Linked DNA regions of Homo sapiens: region 1 is linked to region 2. Evidence: promoter capture Hi-C in human tissues and cell types (Jung and others, 2019). All regions are on one chromosome and are shown on one strand. Each heading gives the region's core, a stretch centred on a gene start or on the middle of the fragment in contact. The rest is flanking DNA. Distances are from core to core; before and after follow the strand shown.

Evidence for each region. The method cuts DNA at HindIII sites, captures the fragments that hold promoters and counts their contacts. A contact is called where the count stands out against the background at its distance.
Region 1: a contact is called between a fragment that was not itself captured here and the fragment with the promoter of FCHSD1 in region 2, in 1 of the 25 tissues and cell types used here (dorsolateral prefrontal cortex).

Annotation. Positions count from the first base shown.
Region 1 is chr5:141,906,580-141,911,570 of GRCh38, reverse strand. No RefSeq gene overlaps it. Among named protein-coding and RNA genes, the nearest start is that of DELE1, 15 kb to the left of the region's middle. The HindIII fragment of the contact is 4,910 bases long and covers 1-4,102 here.
Region 2 is chr5:141,648,586-141,653,188 of GRCh38, reverse strand. FCHSD1 (FCH and double SH3 domains 1) reads left to right here and starts at 1,771. Exons shown (of 20, transcript NM_033449.3): 1 at 1,771-1,841; 2 at 2,072-2,169; 3 at 2,785-2,830; 4 at 3,235-3,302; 5 at 3,653-3,794; 6 at 3,881-4,017; 7 at 4,169-4,232. The coding sequence starts at 1,821. RefSeq lists an enhancer at 3,171-3,749. The HindIII fragment of the contact is 10,660 bases long and covers 1-4,603 here.

The sequences.
Region 1 (4,991 bases), core at 398-2,897, 260 kb before region 2:
TACAGATGGAGGTCTCAGTTAGTTGCCCAGGCTGGAGTGCAGTGGCATGATGATAGCTTACTGCAGACTCGAACTCCAGGGCGCAAGAGATTCTCCCTCCTCAGCCTTTGCAGTAGCTGGGACTATAGGCACATGCCTCTGCCCCTGGCTGGCAGTAACTGTTCATGTTGAGGGAAGGATTTGAGGCCTTGAAGAAGGCCACATAATTAGCCAATGATAAGATTTTAAAAAGGTCCTACTTTTTTCTATGAAAGACATTGACTTCAAATATATATATACATATATATATACACACATATATATACATATATACACATACACACACACACACACACACACACACACACACACACACACACATATATATGGTTTTTTTGAGGAGTCTTGCTCTTTCGCCCAGGCTGGAGTGCAGTGGTGTGATCTCGGCTCACTGCAACCTCTGCCTCCCGGGTTCAAACGATTATCCTCCCTCAGCTTCCTGAGCAGCTGGGATTACAGGCATGTGCCACCACACCCAGCTAATTTTTTTTTTTCACTTTTAGTGGAGACGGATTTCACCATGTTGGCCAGGCTGGTCTCGAACTCCTGACCTCAGATGATCCACTCGCCTCAGCCTTCCAAAGTGCTGGGATTTTAGGCGTGAGCCACTGTGCCTGGCTGACTTCCTATATTTGTGTATATAAGTGTGTGTGTATAGGGGTGGTGATTATTGATTGATTTAGGGTTAATTGATGGTCACAAACTTAGTGAAGACTTGAAGAATTTCACCCTTCCCTTCAGAGAAGACACAGAGGAGAAAAGGAAAATTGCTTGACTAGAGGAAGCCTGCCCCTGGATGAGAAGAGGTAAGAGCAGTGAGGATACAATTATATTTGTGCTGGCTCCATATGAGAGGCCCAGGCAGGAGGCTCCATCCCCTGGATGTCCCACCTACATCCTCTTGGGTGCATCATGCTTCCTGCAGTGTTGATGAGGCCTCAGAAGTCAGCACAGGCGACAGTGGGATGGCCCAGACCCAGCTCAGGGATGCTGAGGGAAGCTATTCTGCTGACTGTGTGCCCTAAGGCACCGTGAAAGCAGCCAAGAGTGAGAGCAGTCACCAAGCCAAAAGGCACTGGGATCAGCCAGGGAGACCAGGAAAACCTGGCCAGAGTCTTCCAGCCAGGCCAGGCCAACAGAGCTGTGCACCTCTGGATGCCATGCCCCAGGGTCTCAAGCTTGCTCAGTCTTGGCCATGAGCTCCTAGAGGTGCCTCCCCAAGGGGAGCCCAGTCAGGCCTCCTTTCCCTACCATAGTTTCCTGGTTTCCACACTGTGGGCTGATACATTTTGTTGTGCAATGGAAGCCATGGGGATAAGGGGGGTTAAACGCTGGTCCCACTACTTACACTGTGGATTCTTGGGCTAGAGGCTCCTTAAGATTTTTCCCTTCTACTCTGATCCCTTCTAGTTAATCCAGTTCGGTCATTCAGTTCACTGTATATCAGGCCGGGCGTGGTGGCTCATGCCTGTAATCCCAGCACTTTGGGAGGCCGAGGCTGGTGCATCACCTAAGGTCAGGAGTTCAAGACCAGCCTGGCCAACATGGTGAAATCCCACCTCTACCAAAAAATATAAGAAATTAGCCAGGCGTGGTGAAGCGCGCCTGTAATCCCAGCTGCTCTGGAGGCTGAGTTAGGAGAATCGCTTAAACCTGGAGGTGAGGTTGTAGTGAGCCGAGATCACACCACTGCACTCCAGCCTGGGTGACAGAGCGAGATTCTGTCTCAAAAAAAAAAAAAAAAAAATTCACCCTGTATCTACTGGGCATGTGTAATGTCAAGGTGCTTTTTCTTTTCTTTTCTTTATTTTATTTTTTTTTTTGAGACAGAGTCTCGCTCTCATCCAGGCTGGAGTGCAGTGGCACAATCCCAGCTCACTGCAGCCTCAACCTCCCAGACTCAATCTATCCTCCTGCATCAGCCTCCCAGGTAGCGGAGACTACAGGCACATGCGCCACCACACCCAGCTAATTTTTTATTTTTTTGTAGAGATGGGTTTTTGACATGTTGCCCAGACCTCAGCCTCCCAAAGTGCTGAGATTACAGGCATGAGCCACCATGCCCAGCCTCAAGGCGCTTTTTCCAAATGCTAGCATCATGATGATGAAGAAGGAAGATATGGGCCCTGCCCTCATGGAGTTTACAGTCTATGGGAAAAGAGGTGCAGGATAAGCCATACAATTATGATGTATGTTACAAAAAGTAAAGGAGAATGGAAGAGAATCAATTCGAAGCTTAACATTGTTTAGCAATGTTTCTCAAAATATGGTCCCTGGACCACTTGCATCAGGGGTATCTGAGGTACTTGTTGAAAATTCAGGTCCTGGGCATCATGCCAGATATGCTGAATCCAAAGCTCTGAATGTGGAGCCTAAGGAACTTGCTTTTTAAAAAAATGTAGGTAAAATCTACGTAACAAAAAATTAGCCATTGAAAGTATACACTTCAGTGGCATTTAGTACATTCACAATGTTGTACAATCATCATCTCTATCTAGTTCCAAAACATTTGATCATCTCCCAAAGAAACTCCTGACTCATTAAGCAGTCACTCCCATTCTCCCTTCACCCCATCCCCTGGTAACCACTAGCCTTCTTTCTATCTGTATGAATTGACCTTTTCTAGATATTTCATAGAAATGAAATCATACACTACATGATCTTTTGCGTCTAGCTTCCTTCACTTAACAATGTTTTCAAGGTTCATCCATGTTGTAGCATACATCAGTACTTCATTTATTTTTATTGCTAAATAATATTCTATTGTGTGGGTATACCACATTTTGTTTATCCATTCATCCATTGATGGATATTTGGGTTGTTTCCATCTTTTGGCTATTGTGAATATTGCTACTGTGAATATTTATATACAAGTATTTGAGTACCTACTTTCAAGTCTCTTGGGTATACCCCTACGAATGAAACTGCTGGGTCATACGGCAATTCTATGTTTAACATTTTAAGGAACCACCAACTGTTTTCCACAGTGGCTGTACCATTTTATGTTCCCATCAGGAAGGCCCAAGGGTTTCAGTGTCCCCACATTCTTGCCAATACTTGTTCTTTTCCTTAATTATAGCCATCACAGTGGGTATAAAGTGGTATCTCATTGTAGTTTTGATTTGCATTTCCGTAATGACTAATGATGTTGAGCATCTTTTCATGTACTTTTTGGCCATTTATATGTCTTCTTTAGAGAAATGTCTATTCAAGTCCTTTGCTCATTTAAAAAATTGAGTTATCTAGGCCAGGCAGGGTGCTCACACCTGCAATCCCAGCACTTTGGGAGGCCAAAGAGTGTGGATCACTTGAGCCCAAGAGTTTGAGACCAGCTGGGGCAACATGGCAAAACCCCATCTCTACGAAAAAATACAAAAAATTAGCCTGGCATGGTGGCACCTGTAGTCCCAGCTACTCAGGAGGCTCAGGTGGGAGGATCACTTGAGCCCCAGGAAGGTTGAGGCTGCAATGAACTGTGATCTTTCCACTGTACTCTAGCCTGGGTGACAGAGTGAGACCTTGTCTCAGAAAAAAAGGATTGTCTTTTTGTTATCAAATTATGAGTCCTTTATATATTCTGGATACTAGAAGTTTATTGGATATGTGATTTGCAAATTGACAAATGAAATGAAAAGTGTCTTTTCACTTTCTTGAAGATGTTCTCTGATGCATGAAAGTTTTTAATTTTGCTGAAGTCCAGTGTATCCATACTTACTTTTTGTTGCATGTGGTTTTGATATCATGTTTAAGAAACCATTGCCAGGCCGAGCGTGGTGTCTCATGCCTGTAATCCCAGCACTTTGGGAGGCTGAGGCGGGCAGATCACCTAAGGTCAGGAGTTCGAGACCAGCCTGGCCAACATGGTGGAACCCTGTCTCTACTAAAAAATATAAAAATTAGCCGGGCGTGATGGCCGGCACTTTGCTCCCAGCTACTTGGGAGGCAGAGGCAGGAGAATCGTTTGAACCCGGGAGGCGGATGTTGCAGTGAGCCGAGATTGAGCCATTGCACTCAAGCCTGGGGGATGAAAGCAAGACCGCTCTCAAAAAAAAAAAAAAAAAAAAAAGAAACCATTGCCAAATCCAAAGTCATGAATATTTACCCTTATGTTTTCTCCTAAAGGTTTTACACTTTTTGCTCTTACATTTAGGTATTTGATACATAATGAGTTCAAAATTTTTGTTTGTTTTTTGTTTTTGTTTTAGGCCACTAAGTTTGTGGTAATTTGTTACATAGCAATAGAAAGCTAATACAGGACCAGAGCAAGAAAAGTTTCTGAAGCTATTGCAGGTATGATATAAGCTGCTTTCCTGCTTGGGCCTTATGACCCAGCAGATTCAACAGTGCTCCAAATGTCTATTGCAGATAGGAATGCTGGTGAACCATCTGGGAATCCCTGATAGAGGAATCATGACGTAGACTCCTAGAGTTTTGTATTGCAGCTATGTCTTTTTACACAAATAACTCATTCACACTTTGAAAAAATAAAATATACAGCTCCTGGGCTTGTTCCTGGGCTCTGGTGGAGACCAAATGCCTGACCTAGGATGCCAAGTGAACATGTAGCATTTACCCATTTATCATAAGGGGTATTTTAAAGATGAACAGCCAGATGGAGAGATGGATAGGTCAAGCCATGTGGGAAGGGGCATAGAGCTTTCATACATCTCTAGGCATGCCACCTTCCCTCCAAGTATCTTCATGTGTTCAGCTATCCAGAAGCTCCTTAGTGAGTTAATATTTGTATATGGTACGAGGTAAGGGGTCCAACTTTCTTCTTTGTTCTTCTTTCTTTCTCCTTCTTCTTCCTTCTTCTTCCTCCTTCTTTCTCTTCCTCCTCCTCCTCTTCCTTCCTCTTCTTCTTCTCCTCCTTCTCCTTCTTCTTCCTTTTTTGTATGTGGATATCCAGTTGTCCCAGCACTATTTGTTGAAGACACTATTTTTTGCCCATT
Region 2 (4,603 bases), core at 522-3,021:
AAGAGTGATTGTGGAGGCCAGGCGCAGTGGCTCACACCTGTAATCCCAGCACTTTGGGAGGCTGAGGGGGATGGATTACCTGAGGTCAGGAGTTTGAGACCATCCTGGCAAAGATGGTGAAACCCTGTCTCTACTAAAAATACAAAATTAGCTGGTTGTGGTGGCACGTGCTTGTAATCCCAGCTACTCGGGAGGCTGAAGCAGAAGAATCACTTGAACCTGGTAGGTGGAGGTTGCAGTGAGCCGAGATTGCACCATTGCACTCCAGCCTGGCAACAGAGCAAGACTCCATCTCAAAAAAAAAAGAGTGATTGTGGAGATGGTCTTTGGATGGGTGGATGGGGAAGGCATCTGTGAAGAGTTGCAAAGTAAGGGAAAGAAGCTGTTGGAGGCGACAGATGGAACGCTGGAAGGAGGAGATTCTGGAGAAAGAAAGCAGGCATGAAGAACTCTGCATTGGAAGGGACTTGGTCTACTGAGGGAACAGCAAAGAGGCTGGAGCACAGTGAGCAGACAGTGGGAGGAGAGTACAGGCTGAAGTAAGAAAGACCAGCAGGGTCTTCCATGCGTAGCCTTGAAGGCCATGGATTCTATTTGGATTTTATTCTGAAGCAAGTGCATTTTAAGCAAGTAAATTATGAGATCTTATTTCCCTTTAAAAAAGAAAAAAAAGGTTGATCACTCTGAGTGCTGTGTGAACAGTGGGTTGGGGTGAGGGCAGTGTGGAAGCAAGGAGATCAGATATTAGACCAGAAGTCTAATAATGGGGGCTTGGACTAGGATGGTGGTCTTGGAAATTGAGGGAAGTGGATCAAGAGGTTTTTGTTTGTTTATTGTTGTTTGAAATAGAACCTGTAGGACTTACTGATGGATAGAATGTAGGGGTAGGAGAAGGCACATTGACTCTGGGTTTCTGACTTAACTGACTGGAGGAAATGCGGTGCCATTTAAAACGTTACGGGGGGAGGATCAGGTTGAAGGAGGTTTAAAAGCTTTAAAAGTTGAGGTTCCTATTAGATATACTAGCAGAGGTGTCAGTGGGGAGTTGGAATGTGAATCTGGAGTTTTGAGACATGTCAGGGGTACTGGGACAGGTGCCTGAGCCAAAGAAGCTTAGGTGAGGAGGATGAGGAATTGGGGAGAGGCTCCTCAGGAAGCAGTGCTAGGGCTGGAAGATCCTAAAGGTGGCAGGGGCTTCCTGCGCATCTCCCAGCTCTCGCCGACTCACTGGTATCGTTTAGTTTTCAGTGGGGCCAAGTCTTTTTCCCTTTGGGCCTGGTTCCTTCCTGGATCCAGGCATCTTTCTCACCCCGCTCACGCTGGCTTTTCCAGTTAAGCGGGAATTAGGAAAAGGTCTGGGACCAGCCCTCTCTTCGTCAGATGCATCTTTGCTCAGGTGCCCAGTGACTCAGTTTCCCTGGTCACACACTGAATTCCTCTCCATTCCTCATCATTAGCTCGGGGACTGGGGATCTACATATGCAAATGAATAATTATCAATAATTACAGGCTGAATCAGTGGTTACACTACAAATAGAACTTAGGCGTCTTGACTCAGATGCCTGGGGTTCTTCCCACCGCCCAGCGGACGCTGCGTCCGCCCCGCCCGCCCCGCCACCCGGACCCTGCCGGCGTATTCGCAGCAGTAACAGGTTTAGTTTCTCGGTGGCCCCCTCTCGCTTCCGCGCCCTGCGACGTCGCCGGACAAGTCGTGGGCGGGCAGAGGGCGGGGCCTGACCTGGCCTGGGGCGGGGCTCCATAGTGGGCGGGGCTTCCTCCAGTTCCGGAGTCCAGTGGCTGACCGCCTTGCTGGAGCGGAGATGCAGCCGCCGCCCCGAAAAGTGAGCTTGGCCCTGAATGGGGACTCCTGGCGGGCTGGGGGAACGGAGGGAGCTAAGGGGGCATCCGACTTGTGGTAGGAGACGGGAAGTCGGAAGGGGTCAGACCCCAAACCAGAAGTAACAGAGGAAAGAGCTCAGCACCCCCCCGGCCCCGCCCCCTCACCGCTCCCTGCGCGGAGTGTTTTTTAGGTCCTTGCGCTGGGGTCTTCATCCTCTCTTTGCCCCCACAGGTGAAGCCGGCCCAGGAGGTGAAGCTTCGCTTCCTGGAACAGCTGAGCATCCTTCAGACCTGGCAGCAGAGGGAGGCGGATCTGCTGGAGGACATCAGGTAGCTCCCCCAACCCCCTTCATTTACACTCACCTTCGTCGTTGTGCGCCACTTCTCCCCAATATACATGTGCTGGGGTGGAGGAACAGGGGCCAAGAGCTCCCCAGCCGACCCATCCACAGCCCTCACCCTAGGCCTGGCCTCTCCAGATACTGGATAGGAATGCTCCCCCACCTAACCCCTCCCAACCCCCTCCCACCCACATAAACACACAGGAACCCTCCCTCAAAGCCCTTGACTCCACACCACTGCCCCCAACCCCACAATCAACCTTAGGGCAGAATCCCTCTCCCTCTTCCAGACCTGTTGGAAGGCTGGCAGACATCGTACCCAGGCCCCCATCAGTCTTCACCTCTAAGCCTACAGATGAACCTCTGGGGTGGGGAGGATCCTGCTGGGGCCCGGGGCAGTAAGGTGAGGGTTTCCTGTGTTGCAGCTGCCCGAGGTGATCTCAAGGACTCCCATCAGTCCCATTCCCTCTGGGTGTAGTTACACTCTAGGAACCTGGCTCCCCCCAACCGCTCCCTCCTGCCCAGAGTAGAGGACTGAGGATGGGAGAACAGGACCAAACATAACCTTATCCCCCACCTCACCCCCGACCTGCAATCTCCGCAGATCCTACAGCAAGCAGAGGGCAGCCATTGAACGGGAGTATGGGCAGGTATGGGACTTTTCTCTGGACCTTACCTCTTGTTCCAGCCTCTCTTATATCACCAGTAATGTCTGTCCATACCTATCCCTATTGTGGTCAAGAGCAGATGCCTAGAGTCAAGCAGACTGGTGTCAGATCCCTGCTGTGTAATTATAGCCATGTGACCTTGGACAAGTTACTTAACCTTTCTTGACCTCAGTTTCTTTCTCTGTGAAATGGGAATAATAATAATACCTTACCTTCATGTAGGGTTGTTGTAAGGATTAAACAAATTAATGACTATAAGGCATTTAGCAAAGCAAGTGGCACATAATGTACCCAAAGAATGGTATGATTATACTCTGATGTCATATTCTGCCAGTTGGGGTGGGTCTTTGAAAGGGAACTTGGTTCTGTGATGGCTTTTTCACCAGGCACTCCAGAAACTGGCTGGCCCATTCCTGAAGAGGGAAGGGCACCGGAGCGGTGAGATGGACAGCAGGTGGGCCCTATGGAGGGGGAGGGCCACAGAGGCCAAAAAGTGATGGGGAGCTCAGCCCCAGGAACCTGTGGGGATGAAGGCCTAGCAAGTGGGGAAGGCACGTGAGCTGTAGGTAGAGCTGACACAGCAGCAGCAGAGGAGCTGACCCAGCAAGGACACTGTGGGTGGGGTGGAGGGCAGGAGTGAGGCTTGTGGCTGAGCTAATGGGCTGATCGATTGATGGGCTCCCAGACAAGGGAGGATGGGAAAGCACTCTGTCTCCCATGGTGTTGGTCAGGGGGCAGGGGGTGGGGGTGGTCTCATGAAGCTGTGGAGTGCTCTCCTCCTCAACACAGACCTTCTCTGGGGAGGGGCAGGACAGTGTTCGGTGCCTGGCGCTGCCTGCTGGATGCCACCGTGGCTGGGGGCCAAACCCGACTCCAGGCGTCTGACCGATACCGTGACCTAGCAGGGGGTACAGGGCGGAGCGCCAAGGAGCAGGTGCTTAGGAAGGTATGGCTCAGAGGTTGGGGTGAAGGAAGAGCTGGCTTGGGACCAAAGGTGGTCTAGGTAAGGACTTTGTGTATGCATCCCAATAGGGAACAGAGAACCTCCAGAGGGCGCAGGCTGAGGTGCTGCAGTCTGTCCGGGAGCTGAGCCGAAGTCGGAAGCTGTATGGGCAGCGGGAACGTGTGTGGGCCTTGGCACAGGAGAAGGCGGCTGATGTCCAGGCCAGGTGGGGTCATGGAGAGTGAGGAAGCCCAAGGTTGGGGAACAGGGAGGTGGGGCTGTCTAGGGGTGGAGCCAAGTCACCAAAGCTGGGCCTGACTCTGATCTCATATTCTCCCACTTGGGGTGGGCCTGACTCCTTTCTCTCATCTGCACAGGCTAAACCGAAGTGACCATGGGATCTTCCACTCTCGGACCAGTCTCCAGAAACTGAGCACCAAGGTTCGAGGGATGAGGGCATGAGTGGGGGCAGGGAAGAGGGAGGCAGAGTAGTCTAGTGGTTTGGAACATAGGTGCATATGTATGAAAGACTGGGTTGAATCCAGGCTCTCCTACTTCCTGGGTGGGTAACCTTGGTTAATTTACTTGATCTCTGTGAGCCTTATTTTCTTCTATAAAATGGAGAGAATACCCTTCTTTTTCAGTCCTTTAATATGCATTTATTGAGGATCTGTATATAATAGGCACTGTTCTAGACATTATGGATACAGTGGAGAACACTACCAATGGAGTTCCTGCCCTCACAGTCTGGTTAAGAGAGACAGACAGCAAATAAATACTTAGATTAAGATGAAAATAAAACAAGGTACTAT